2 separate regions of the Homo sapiens genome follow, and region 2 is linked to region 1. Evidence: promoter capture Hi-C in 16 types of primary human blood cells and fetal thymus (Javierre and others, 2016). All regions are on one chromosome and are shown on one strand. The core of a region is centred on a gene start or on the middle of the fragment in contact, and the rest is flanking DNA. Distances in the headings are between cores, read along the strand shown. Region 1 holds the start of TOP2A (DNA topoisomerase II alpha). Region 2 overlaps WIPF2 (WAS/WASL interacting protein family member 2).

Region 1 (6,664 bases), core at 2,115-4,614:
TCGTTCCCACTCAACAAAGTACATAAAAACAGGCTGGGCGCAGTGGCTCACGCCTGTAATCCCAGCAATCCCAGCACTTTGGGAGGCTAAGGCAGGCAGATCACTTGAGGTCAGGAGTTCGAGACCAGCCTGACCAACATGCAGAAACCCCATCTCTACTAAAAAAAATACAAAATTAGCCAGGTGTGGTGGTGTGCGCCTGTAATCCCAGCTACTCTGGAGGCTGAGGCAGGAGAATTGCTTGAACCCAGGAGGTGGATGTTGCGGTGAGCCGAGATCATGCCACTGCACTCCAGACTGGGCAATAAGAGCAAAACTCCATCAAAAAAAAAAAAAAAAAAAAGGAAAACCAATATCAATCATAAACTGCCTTGCTCTCAAATAAAATGCTGAAAACTTATTTCAGTTATTTTAAGTTAATTCTTGGATGGTACTATATTTTAGTTAATAACTCGATATACATTATGGTTCTTGTTCTACATAGTACTTATTATCTATAAAAAAAACTAATTAAAATTAGCTCAACTTTTTTTTTTTTTTTGAGACAGAGTCTTGCTGTGTCACCCAGGCTGGAGTGCAGTGGTGCAATCTCGGCTCACTGCAAGCTCCACCTCCCGGGTTCATGCCATTCTCCTGCCTCAGCCTCTCGAGTAGCTGGGACTACAGGCGCCCACCACTACACCCGGCTAATTTTTTGTATTTTTAGTGGAGACAGGGTTTCACCGTGTTAGCCAGGATGGTCTTGATCTCCTGACCTTGTGATCCGCCCGCATCGGCCTCCCAAAGTGCTGGGATCACAGGCATGAGCCACCGTGCCTGGCCCTAGCTCAACATTTTTTAAAGACTATGATATTGAGTCCTTAGGAAAATCCAGGTATACTTTGTCATAATCAATCAGACTAACAAAAAAGTGAAATAAGCACCCTGATCACCCACTAAGGGACACCCCGCATTTATAAGCAGAAATGTCAGATCAAATTATTCTCTACCACCACCTACTGGTTTACTGTTTGAATAGCATCATGAGAAAAAGTTAAAACTCCAGATGCCAGAATACTTAAAGCAATTACTGAAGGTGCTTGCTCAAATATTTAGGGATTAGGTGTCATAAGTCCTGTAATTTATTTTGAAATGATCCAGAGCAAATAGGCCGCGTGCCATGGCACACACCCATAATGCCAACACTGGAGGATTGCTTCAGGCCAGGAGTTCTAAGACCAGCCCAGGCAAAATAGCAAGACCCCTTCCTCTAAAAAAATTAACTAATTAAAAAAAAGATGGAGAAAATATGGAAAAACGTTGGCAACTGTTGGATCTAGGTGGTGGGTATCCATAGGTTTTTCATTTTAGCATTCTGCTTTTGTGTACTTTTCTCAACTTCTGTTTAGGAAAAGCCAACTTCACCAGTAATCAAAATACATGCAGCTAACAATAGCAACGAGCTACATAACAAAAACTAAGCAAAAGACGTACGGATCAATTGTGACTCTAATACAAGACATTTTTGGGTCCCTTTGTTTGTTGTCCGCAGCATTAACTGAAAGAAAATAAAATATACATTTGTAAGAAATTAGTGTTTTAAGAAACATTCTGTAACTCTAAGTAAGATATAGAAAAAAAAGTTCCCAAACAGCACAGGAGTGGCATTAACAAGGTGTTAATTTAGCAATTTTTGTCCATAGTACTGTTTCTACGAGAAGCTCAACCTCCTGGGCTCCAGGAAACCAGCTCACCTTTATCAACTGATTGAAATGACAGGAGCCCTGGCTACAGCAGGTTTGGTAGAAATGATACTTTTTGTTTTTACTTTTATCTTTTTTAAATTTTTATTTGGAATGATACTTCTTATGAAAGATTTGACCAGATCTTTATATTAAAGGATTTACTCACCTAGAATCTCATCAAAGATTTTGTACAAACCAGGAACAAAAGTGACTTCCCTATAGTTAATGCCAACATCTTCATCGTAAACCCACATTTGCTAGAAATAAGGCAAAGAAATACTGTTATTTTTATTCTATATTCATTGTTCTGTTATCATGATTACCATAAAGTGTTCATATTAAGTATTACCATATTTAGGCCAGTTCCAGTGACACTCAGTACATGAGAGATACAGAAAGGTCACACTCAGTACATGAAAGGTACAGAAAGAAGAGTATCCATTTCAACTACTAGGTTAACTGCCTTTGATGAGCTTGATTTTACCTGGGTCACTAATTCCACAGAACCAATGTAGGTGTCTGGGCGGAGCAAAATATGTTCCAATTGTGTTTTCTTTTGATAGATTCTTTCAACAGACAGTCTTTTCTTAGCATCTTCATTTTTCTTTATTTTGTTGACTTGCATATTTTCATTTACAGGCTAGCAATTAAAAAAAAAGAGAGAAAGAAGGGAATTTTTAATCATAAGTTTACCCTAAACTAGGAACAAAATGCCTACCATAGTGAGATGTCAACATGCATTGCAATCTGTTAGTAGGCAGTGGTGGAGTTGCCAGTTTTGTACAAATAGGACAATTTAAATTCGCTGCGGCCAGGTCCCCAGGTGTCAGGTTAAACAGACACATATTATCTCACCAAGTGGGTCTGTCTGGAAACCTCTTTTCTTGAGCAACATGGTAGATGTCATCAATAAAATACACCCACTTCTTTCAGTTCCTGCATACATTATTTACCGAGTGCCTATTATTATAAATTATTTACGGTGTCCCGAGCACACGACACCGTAAATAATTCTAGTTCGGCAGCAGCAGTTTGGGCGGCTATCCGTTCAATCCCTTGGCCACCTGAGCGTTGTGAACTCAGGAAGGGGGCGCTTTTGTAAGCTGGCCAGCTGCTCCAGAGAAACACTGTGCTAGGCTCTGCCCTTTCCAAGATCGGGGACATTCAAGACCGTTTTCAAGCAGCGGGCAGGAGGGGAAAGCATCTGTACGCGCGACTCAATAACGTCGCACCCGGGCCGCTGTAACATGGATCCACTACGGGACCAACGGACTCCTGCCCCTAGAAACAGGGCAACAACGCACGACACCCTGGAAGCCGGGTCATACTTCACTACTAGCACCAGAAGGGGCTTCCGCCTCTCCACGATCACCCCGGAACCGGGAATGGAGAATATGGGCTCCCAAGCCGGTCGCCGGCCTGACCGCAGCCCCAGAGCTTCACCCGTCACGGGCGGCCAGAGAGATGCCCGGGCCGCGCGGAGGCTCCACCGCCAGTCCCCCCCGCGAGCCGTACCTGCAATGGTGACACTTCCATGGTGACGGTCGTGAAGGGGCTCAAGAACCCTGAAAGCGACTAAACAGGCAGGACCCCACGAGACCACCCCCGACCAAGCCGCTTCTCCACAGACGCGCGTCGGTTAGGAGAGCTCCACTTGAACCTTCCTTTAGCCCGCCCGAAGCAGACCAGCCAATCCCTGACTCGCTCTCACCGTCTCCGTCCAGAAGAACCAATCGTAGCTTGCCTTTTATATCCACCTATGAACGGCTGAGTTGGCCGGGGTTTGTTTGAATAAACCAATCAGGTTAGGGAGGCGGGACTAGAGAGGCTTCAAAAGGCACCACTCGGCGTCATAGCGGAGAGATTGACAGGGAATCTGGCCAATGAGAAGGGCTCACTTGTTTTCTCGTGCGGAAAGCTTGGAAGAGATGGGCTTTGGAAGCGGGAAGGGGTGGCCTGAGGCAAAAGTGTGCAGGAGAAAAGCAAAGGATGTTTATTCTCCAGGAACTGCCAATCTATTTAAGATCCCTGAAATCTAAAAACTGTCCTCTGTTCTGACGTTGTTAGCGAGGGGAATGGGAGCCTTAGCTTCGTTTTCCTGAGGAAACTGAGTGCCGGCTTTCTGGACAGGCAGCCTGGCTGCTTGGTTGAAGCGAACAGATTCTGGCATCTGCCTCAACCCCGCCCCCTTTACCCTCGAATTCATTTTTCAAAGAAATAAAAGTAGGCTGTGTGCGGTGGCTGGAGTCTGTATTCGCAGCACATTGGGAGGCCGAGGCGGGAGGATCGCTGGAGCCTAGGAGTTGGAGACCAGCCTGGGCAACATAGCGAGACCCCGTCTCTACCCAAAAAGGAAAAAAAATAGCCAGGCGAGGCATCGCACACCTGTAACTCCAGCTCCGGAGGCTGAGGAGGGAGGATCGCTTGAGCCCCGGGGATCGGAGATCGAGGCGCCTTGAACCGTGATTGCTCCACTGCACTCCAGCCTGAGTGACAGAGCGAGGCCACCTCAAGAGATAAATACATAAATAAATAAATAATAAAAATAATTAAAATAAAAGTGCCACAGTTGTGGTTTGGGGGTTCCATATAGTGGAAGGATGTAGAAAGGCTTTGCAAAATGGAGGGCAGCATTCAGGTCCCCAGTAGAGCAGCGCTGGACTGCAACTGGTAAATCGAAAGGGATAACTTGTGGTGGTAGCCTCTTGAGCTGAGGGTGGGCTCAGCCGTCCGGGGCTGAAACCTTTTCCGCAGCCAGCTGGCCAGATACCCTCCGACTGGCTACTTTTGCTCACCTCCGTGAACCCTGCAGTCCAGAACAGCTGTTCCAATTTGACAAGGAAATGCCAAGACTGAAGCTTTTTTGTTTGCTTGTTTTTTTGTTGCTTTTTTTTTTTTTGAGATGGAATCTCACTCTGTCGCCCAGGCTGGAGTGCAATGGCGCGATCTAGGCTCACTGCAACCTTCACCTCGCGGGTTCAAGCGATTCTCCTGCCTCAGCCTCCCGTGTAGCTAGAATTACAGGCGCCTGCCACCACGCCTGGCTAATTTTTGTATTTTTTTAGTAGAGACAGGGTTTTGCCATGTTGACCAGGTTGGTTTCAAACTTCTGACCTCAAGTGATCTGCCCGCCTCAGCCTCTCAAAGTGCTGGGATTACAGGTGTGAGTCACTGTGCCCGGCGAAGACTGAAGTTTTAAAATTACTCTTACATATAAATGTTTGAGTGGATTAAACAAAGTTATTACCCTTACAAGAAGCCAGAAAAAAAAAAACTGCACAATTTGAGTGCCTACTAATTCCAGCTGAGCCACCTCTTTCCATTCATTGCTTCCTTCCTCTACCTGGGTTTCAGTCCCAACTCAGCAATTTGCCATTCGTGTCATTTCGATGGAGGAAGCCTCTCGGTGCTTCCGTTTCCTCTCCTAAAAAGAATAATTAACTATGATCTCAGAGTAGTGTGAGGGTTACATGAGAGAAGTGTAAGGTAAACAGTGGGCTGACAGTATTAGGTAGCAGGAATTTTCCTTAGGCTGGTGTGACAATTGTGGATGTAATTTTTTTTTTCTTCTTCTAAAAGAAACCAGAGGTCAACCATTGTTACATAACCACAGTGTGTCAAGGGAGGGCCAATGGGGAGCCGTATGATGTGGCAGGAAGCCAAGGATGGAAGTTGCCCATGGGCTAGGGGCACTCGGAAACCATAGGCATGGTGCTTCGGCATTGTTCTGCTCTCTTGACCTTTGGCTCCCTGGCCTCCAGCAGTCTCTGCGTGTTCCCAGCTCTGCTCTGCTCACCACATGTGTTAGAGAGCACAGGACCACCAGGGGCTCAGAGCAGTGGTAGGGAAGCTTGGCCAGTAGCCTCTGCTCAGCCAGAAGACTGACCAGGCCCTGGGATCCAGGGCCTGCATGCCACTCTCTGCAGGACACCCGAGGGCCCTGACAGAAACCAGCCATGCTGGCTTCTACCTCCTAGAACGCACTACCTCCAAGGTAGTGGGGATGGTGGGCATGCTTCCCCAAGGATGGCAGCTCAGTTTCTGCAGCTCCCGGCCTCTACCCTGTAGCTCATCCCAGCCTGCAGTGACCCACTGGGCAATGAGGCAACAGGAATTTAACAAGCAGCTCCAGCCCTATTTTTTAGGGGCCCAGCTTTAAATCTGTCCTGCAGTTTAGCTGGATCCTGTGTGTCTTTGTTCCAAAAACCCAGAAGAAGTACTGTGGAGTCAAAAGGACTTTGGGGACCGGGTGTGGTGGCTCACGCCTGTAATCCCAGCACTTTGGGAGGCTGAGGTGGGTGGATCACCTGAGTTCAGGGGTTTGAGACCAGCCTGGACAACTTGGTGAAACCCCATCTCTACAAAAATACAAAAAAAAAAATTAGCCATGCCTGATGGCGGGTGCCTGTAATCCCAGCTGCTCGGGAGGCTGAGGTGGGAGAATAGCTTGAATCCAGGAGGCGGAGGTTGCAGTGAGCCGAGATCGTGCCATTGCACTCCAGCCTGGGCGACAGAGCAAGACCCCGTCTCAAAAAAACAAACAACAACAACAACAAAAAACACAAAAGGACTTTGGGGCCACACACACCTAAGTTAGAATTCTTCCTGGGTCTCTTGGTTTCCCCATGCCATTATCCTTTATCAAAGACACAGAGGGCAAAATGAGATATGCAAGTGTCGGGGACAATCCTTTTCCAGCTCTGTAGCACAAGGTGGTCTTGCTCTGGCCCACCCCCCTTCTCTTCTGGGTACAAGCTATTTCTCTGCCAGTCCCTCCCTCTTCCCAGAGCCTATTGCAGGGGGTCCTGCAGGACTTGTGGGGACTATTGAAGAAAGAATAGTGGTGGGGGTCTGGGATGGGTGGGCCTGGAAGGCATTGCACACAAAGAGGGAACTGCAGGGCCGGGCACGGTGGCTCACGCCTGTAATCCCAGCACTTT
Region 2 (6,664 bases), core at 2,210-4,709, 150 kb before region 1:
CAGAGACACAATTCTTTGCATAGGAAGACACCAGGGCCTGTCAGAGGCCTAGCACCTCCTCCACCCACCTCGGCCTCCCCATCTTTACTGAGTAATAGGCCACCTCCCCCAGCCCGAGACCCTCCCAGTCGGGGAGCAGGTAAGTGCTTGGAAGCACCTTTTTCCCTATCATGCTGTGAGTTGATTTTATCTTTCCCCAGAGCACTCCTTGAAGACAGTAATTCGTTTATTCACTCAGTGGGTTTATTGAGTACCTTTTTATGTGTCAGGTCTGTTGGTAGGGAAATAGCAATAAATAGAAAAGACAAAAAAATTTGACAGTCAAACTAGTAAAATATATAAATACATAGTATGCAGTATGCTTTAGAGAATTACAAAGCAGAGGAGAGGAATAAGATATACTGGGGCGGAGGTCGGGATGATGATATCTTTAATTGGAGGAGTGGGGAGAGAGTCAGGACAGTCCTTACTGATACGGTGAAAATTTGACAAAGACCTTAAGAAAGTGACGAGTAAGCTTAGTAGTTATCTAGGAGAACAGCTGTTGCAGGCAGTGGGAACAACAAATGCAGAGGCCATAAGGCAGAAGTATTCTTGAAACATTTTGGGGACAGCAAGGGGGCCATTGTGGCAAGACTACAAAGAGTGAGGGGAGGGAAGAGTGGTAGGACTTGGAGGTTGGAAAGCTGGAGCTGCAGGGGAGAGCGCACTGCAGGATTTTGCAAAGACCTTGGATTTAACTGTGTGAGATGGGAAGCCACTGGAGGGTTTTAAACAGAGAAGTAGTATGATTTGATTCACCTTTTAAAAAGATCATTAACTCCTATGTTGAGAACAGACCGCAGGAGGACAAAGGTGACAAAAGGAGACCAGTTACTGGGCTGTTGCAGTAAACGGCCAGATGGTTAGGACTACTGTGAATTTGTGGGAAGATAGGTGTTCAGTTTGAGACAAGTTTGAGATGCCTGTTAGGTAATCAAGAAGAGACAATGAATTGGTAATTGGCTATCAGACTCCAAAGTTGAGGGGAGAGGTTTCGGCTAGAGAGATACATTTGAATGGTGTTGAAAACCACATGCTGGATGAAGTCACCTAAGGAGTGAATATAGATAAGAAGAGGCCTAGGAGGCTGAGGCAGGAGAATCGCTTGAACTCAGGAGGCAGAGGTTGCAGTGAGCCGAGATCACGCCACTGCACTCCAGCCTGGGCGACAGAGTGACAGTCCATCTCAAAAAAAAAAAAAAAAAAAATGAGGGCTGAGCCCTCGCCCTCCTACATTAGAGGCAAAAGAGATGAAGAATACCCAGCAGAGGAAACAGAAAAGCTTCTAGTGAGGATGGAAGGAGAAAAACCAAGAATGTGATGGAAAAACTCCAAGGTAGAGTAAGTGGTCAGCTGTGCCCAGTGCTGCAGATGGGTCAGGTAAGTTAAAGACCAAGAACTGGCATTGGTCTTAGTATCATGGGACCCTTTTGAGTAGTTTCAGTGGAGTGGTGGAGGGTGAAAGTGAAAGCTTAATTGGAGTGGGTTCAAGAATGCAGGAATAGGAGGAGAGAAATTGGAGATAGCAATATAGAAATCTCTTAAAGAGTTCGCTGTAAAGTCCAGGAGAGAGGGGTGAAGATAAGTGAAGTGATTGTTGGACGAAGATGTGGGGTTGAGAGTTGTTTTTTTCCCATCCCAAGATGGGAGACCTATTTGTATGCTGATGGAATGAGTAGCATGAAACTTAGGAGAGAGGGAAAAAATTGAATCAGAAGAGAGGGAACAGATTGCCTGAATAATGACCTGGAGGAGGCCAGAGAAAAGAGAATGTGATCGATAGATAAAAAGGGTTGGCCTTAGATAGGAACATAGTTCTTCCATAGTAACAAGAGGGGAGGCAGAGCATATAGGCTTAGAAGCAAGTGGGTAGGTGGGTGTAGTGGTAGAAGCATGTGGAAAGTTTATTCTAATTTGCTTCTGTTTTCTCAGTGAAATGGAAAGCAAGAGCATCAGCTGTGATTGAGGCGAGGGAAGGAGAAGGAGAGTTGAGGAGAGAGAAGAGGCATGAAATGGTCATCTGGAGCGTGGGAGTGTGGGTGGACTAGGGAAGTGTGCTCAGATAGGCAACCACGCGAAGGGCCCACTTGAGATTATGGGCCATACATTTCATGTGAGATTAATTAGTCTCATGTGTTCAGTTGTGATTTGCAGGTACAGAAAAAGAGTAGAGCTGTGTTTAACCAGCGTTAGCATGTTTTAGGCATGTGCGACTCTAAGGGAGAGTGGGGCAGGAAGGGAAGGGTGTATGTGAGGGAGTGATTGCAATAATGGAGCCTAAGCTGGGTGAGGAGGGAATTTAGGAACCCTGGAAAAAGAAGAGGTTGTGTAATCTCGTTATAATTAGCATAACTGAAATTTTAGAGTGAGGGAGACCGTGACAGCTCTCTGGGGCCTTATTGGACATGGGAATTTTGGCTCCCATATCGTTGTATCATTAGACTTTGAGACATACCCTCCACAAACAGCTTCTTGGCCTTTATTTATTTATTTGTTTGTTTGTGTTTTGAGACAGAGCCTTGCTCTTTCGCCCAGGCTGGAGTGCAGTGGTGCAATCTCTGCTCATTGCAACCTCTTCCTCCCAGGTTCAAGTGATTGTTGTGTCTCAGCCTCCTGACTAGCTGGAATTACAGGCATGTGCCACCATATCTGGCTAATTTTTGTATTTTTAGTAGAAACGGGTTTTCGCCGTGTTGGCCAGGCTGGTCTCAAACTCCTGACCTCAAGTGAGCCACTGCGCCCAGCCCTTAGCTTTTATTTTAAAGTCAGTTTCTACAGGTATAGAACATTGATTAAGGAGTTATGTCATGGAGTCTGGGCATGATGGCTCACGCCTTAATCCCAGCACTTTGGAAGGTTGAGGCCAGCAGATCATTTAAGCCCAGGAGTTCGAGACCAGCCTGGGCAACATGGCAAAACCCTGTCTCTACAAAAAATAATTTTAAAAAATTAGCCTGGCATGGCGGTGCATGCCTGTAGTCCCAGCTACTTGAGTGGCTGAGGTGGGAAGACCACTTGAGCCTGGGAGGTGGAGGCTGCAGTGAGCTGTATTAGTGCCACTGCACTTCAGCCTGGGCAACACAGCAAGACGTTGTCCCAAAAAAAGGGTAAAGGTTATATCATTAAGTAGCAAGGCATTAAAAGTCCATTAACCTGTGTGCAGCTTCTTTGTTCAGTACATACAGATTTGTACTCTAGCAGCTGGCCATCTAACATAGGGCAGCCAAACAGTGGCCTACTGCATTCCTGATCCCATATCTCCCTAGCTTTAGCCATAATGAGGTAGTGCTAAGGTGGCCCTTGATTCTATAAAGTTCAGGTTTGACTTTTTTTTTAACTTAGGGATTTTACAAAAGACTCTTTGTCTGAGCAAAGCTCATATCTTTCTGACCTCATCCAGGAATAGAAGAAGAGAAAAATGCAATTTCCGTGGGTTGAGCTGAGCACTTTTAAATGTCTGCAGGCTTTCTTGCTTCCCACTTTTCCATTCTTTCTCTGTGGTAGCTAGGACTACAGGAGTGTTGCCACCATGTCTGGCTCATTAAAATTTTTTTTTATTTTTATTTTTTAAGATGAGGTCTGTGTTGCCCAGGCTGGACTCAAACTCTTGGGCTCAAGCCATCCTCCCACCTTGGCCTCCCGAAGCCCTGGGATTACAGATGTGAGCAATTGTACCTGGCTAGAGCAGCAATTCTTAAGAGTGATAAACCAGAAAAAAATTGAGATATTTTAGTCAGAGATCATTTGAGTATTGCCTCGATTTGTTGTGTGACATTGGACAGATCACTGATTCTCTTTTCTCACCGATTCTCTTTTCTCACCTGTAAAATGTACATTTGAAAAGTACAGTGGGGGTCAGGGACACAGGCTCACACTTGTAATCCTAGTGCTTTGGGAGGCTGAGGCAGGAGGATCGCTTGAGACGGAGTTCAAGACCAGCCTGGGCAACATGGTGAAACCCCATTACTACAAAAAATAAAAAAACTAGGCCGGGTGCAGTGGCTCACGCCTGTAATCCTAGCAATTTGGGAGGCTGAGACAGGCAGATCACCTGAGGTCAGGAGTTCAAGACCAGCCTGGCCAACATGGTGAAACCCCATCTCTCTACTAAAATACAAAAATTAGCCAGGCATGATGGCGGGTGCCTGTAATCCCAGCTACTCGAGAGGCTGAGACGGGAGAATCGCTTGAACCCGGGAGATTGTGGTTGCAGTGAGCTAAGATTGCACCACTGCACTCCAGCATGGGTGACTGAGCGAGACTCTGTCTCAAAAAATAAATAAATAAATAAATAAAAATAAATTTAAGAAACCTAGCCAGGCGTGGTAGCGTGTGCCTGTGGTCCCAGCTACTTGGGAGGCTAGGATGGGAGGATCACTTGAGCCCAGGAGGCAGAGGCTGCAGAGAGCTGAGATCACGCCACTGCACTCCAGCCTAGGCAGCAGAGCAAGACCCTGCCTCAAAACCCGCCCCCCCAAAACCCAAAAACTAGCATTATTGGTTCATAGAGTTTGTTTCAAGAATTTTTTCTTTGCAGAGTAAAACACTGTCTTTTTTTTTTTTTTTTTTTTTTGAGATGGAGTCTTGCTCTGTCGCCCAGGCTGGAGTGCAGTGGCGCGATCTCGGCTCACTGCAAGCTCCACCTCCCAGGTTCACGCCATTCTCCTGCCTCAGCCTCCCGAGTAGCTGGGACTGCAGGCACCCGCTACCATACCCGACTAATTTTTTTGTATCTTTAGTAGAGATGGGGTTTCACCATGTTAGCCAGGATGGTCTCTATCTCCTGACCTTGTGATCCGCCTGCCTTGGCCTCCCAAAGTGCTGGGATTATAGGCATGAGCCACTGCACCCGCCAACACTGTCCATTTTTAAGGGAATTTGAGAAAAATAGAAACCATCATACTTTTCTCAAAATTAGGGTTAATCTTGGATTACAAAAGCCTGTCTCCCATCCCAGGACTTCTTTTGGAAATTGTTTTTTAGGGACTGGAGTTCTGGCTCTGTCACTTGAAACAGTCTTAAAACTGGATCTGGGGCCGGGTGCGGTGGCTCATGCCTGTAATCCCAGCACTTTGGGAGGCTGAGGCGGGCAGATCATGAGGTCAGGAGATTGAGACCATCCTGGCTAACACGGTGAAACCCTGTCTCTCTACTAAAAATACAAAAATGAGCCGGGCGTGGTGGCGGGTGCCTGTAGTCCCAGCTACTGGGGAGGCTGAGGCAGGAGAGTGGCATGAACCCGGGAGGCGGAGCTTGCAGTAAGCCGAGATCGTGCCACTGTACTCAAGCCTGGGGGACAGAGCGAGACTCCGTCTCAAAAAAAAAAAAAAAAAAGAAAAATAACTGGATCTGACAAAGAGCCCAGAAGCTTATTGGAGACAGCAGAACCTGGCTGGGATGAGGGAGGGAGCTGGAGAAGCCAAACAGATCACTCTTACCCTGCTCTATTTTGCCATTCCAGGTCGTCTCATCGCTGTCACCTGCCTGGTGTCTAGCTGGTGTCGGTGTCCTTGTGAACCTGGCTAACCCTGTTTACCTTGCTGCCCTGGCCTAGGAGTAGATACAAATTCTCAGGGCCTTGAGGAATCTGGGTTTTAGGGAATATTTTTGAGGGCTTAAAGAAGCTTCTATTCTTAAAGAGCTTTAGTTTGAGTAGATTTGGAATCAAAACAAGGCTCAGAGATCTGCTGGGAGTTACAAGATTTCTCTTTAATTATTGCATCTAGTGTCCCCTGTTTCTACTGAACAAAGCTTGGAAACAGTGAGGAAGAGTTGACATTCTGAGTGTGTCTTACGGGAAGCAAAAACATTTATTGGGCTTATTGTGCCAGATTGTGTGTGTGTGTGTGTGTATGTTATTCTATTACTGTGTTACATGCTTAACTATAGTCACTACAGCAATTCTGATAGTAATCAGGAGGAATAATAAGATACTCTTTTCTTTGAGACAGTCTTGCTGTGTCACCAGGCTGGAGTGCAGTGGCGCGATGTTGGCTTATTGCAGCCTCCATCTCCCAGGTTCAAGCTCCTCCCACCTCAGGCTCCAGAATATCTGGGATTGCAGGCGTGTGCCACCACGCTTGGCTAATTTTTGTACTTTTTTAAAATTTGAGGTGAGGTTTCATCATGTTGCCCAGGCTGATCTCGAACTCCTGGCATCAAGCAATCTGCCTGCCTCAGCCTCCCAGAGTGTTGGGATTACAGATGTGAGCCACTATGCCTAGCCAAGATACCGTTTTACTACTAAAAACAGTTTTGTCTGTTAAGCTGAGTAGTCTCTTCACATACTATTTAGGTCACAACTATTTATTGGGCCACGTGCTGTGGCACATGCCTATAATCCCAGCCCTTTGCTGAGGCGGGAGCATTGCTTGAGCCCAGGAGTTTGAAGCTGCACTGAGCTATGATTCCACCACTGCGCTTTAACCTGGGTGACAGAGTGAGACCCTGTCTCTTAAAAAAAAAAAAAAATTGAACATGGCCTAGATACCAAAAGATGCACTTCCAAGCCACTGGATTGTAAATCTGGTTGGGAAGATACTATGCAGAATACTGGGAGTTACGAAAAGCAGTGTGGGAGAGTAGAAAGAGCAGACATGTGCCTTGCCTATTTTTATTTGAT

Evidence for each region. The method cuts DNA at HindIII sites, captures the fragments that hold promoters and counts their contacts. A CHiCAGO score of 5 or more calls a contact.
Region 2: a fragment that was not itself captured here is called in contact with the fragment with the promoter of TOP2A in region 1 in 1 of 17 cell types (neutrophils); the score reaches 5.3 in neutrophils.

What each region holds. Positions count from the first base shown.
Region 1 is chr17:40,414,532-40,421,195 of GRCh38, forward strand. It overlaps TOP2A (DNA topoisomerase II alpha), which reads right to left and starts at 3,365. Exons shown (of 35, transcript NM_001067.4): 1 at 3,240-3,365; 2 at 2,209-2,364; 3 at 1,891-1,981; 4 at 1,474-1,537. The coding sequence starts at 3,260. RefSeq lists enhancers at 3,024-3,549, 3,271-3,360, 5,029-5,571. The HindIII fragment of the contact is 7,280 bases long and covers 1-3,640 here.
Region 2 is chr17:40,265,008-40,271,671 of GRCh38, forward strand. WIPF2 (WAS/WASL interacting protein family member 2) reads left to right here. Exons shown (of 8, transcript NM_133264.5): 5 at 1-139. Among named protein-coding and RNA genes, the nearest start is that of CDC6, 20 kb to the right of the region's middle. The HindIII fragment of the contact is 3,897 bases long and covers 1,512-5,408 here.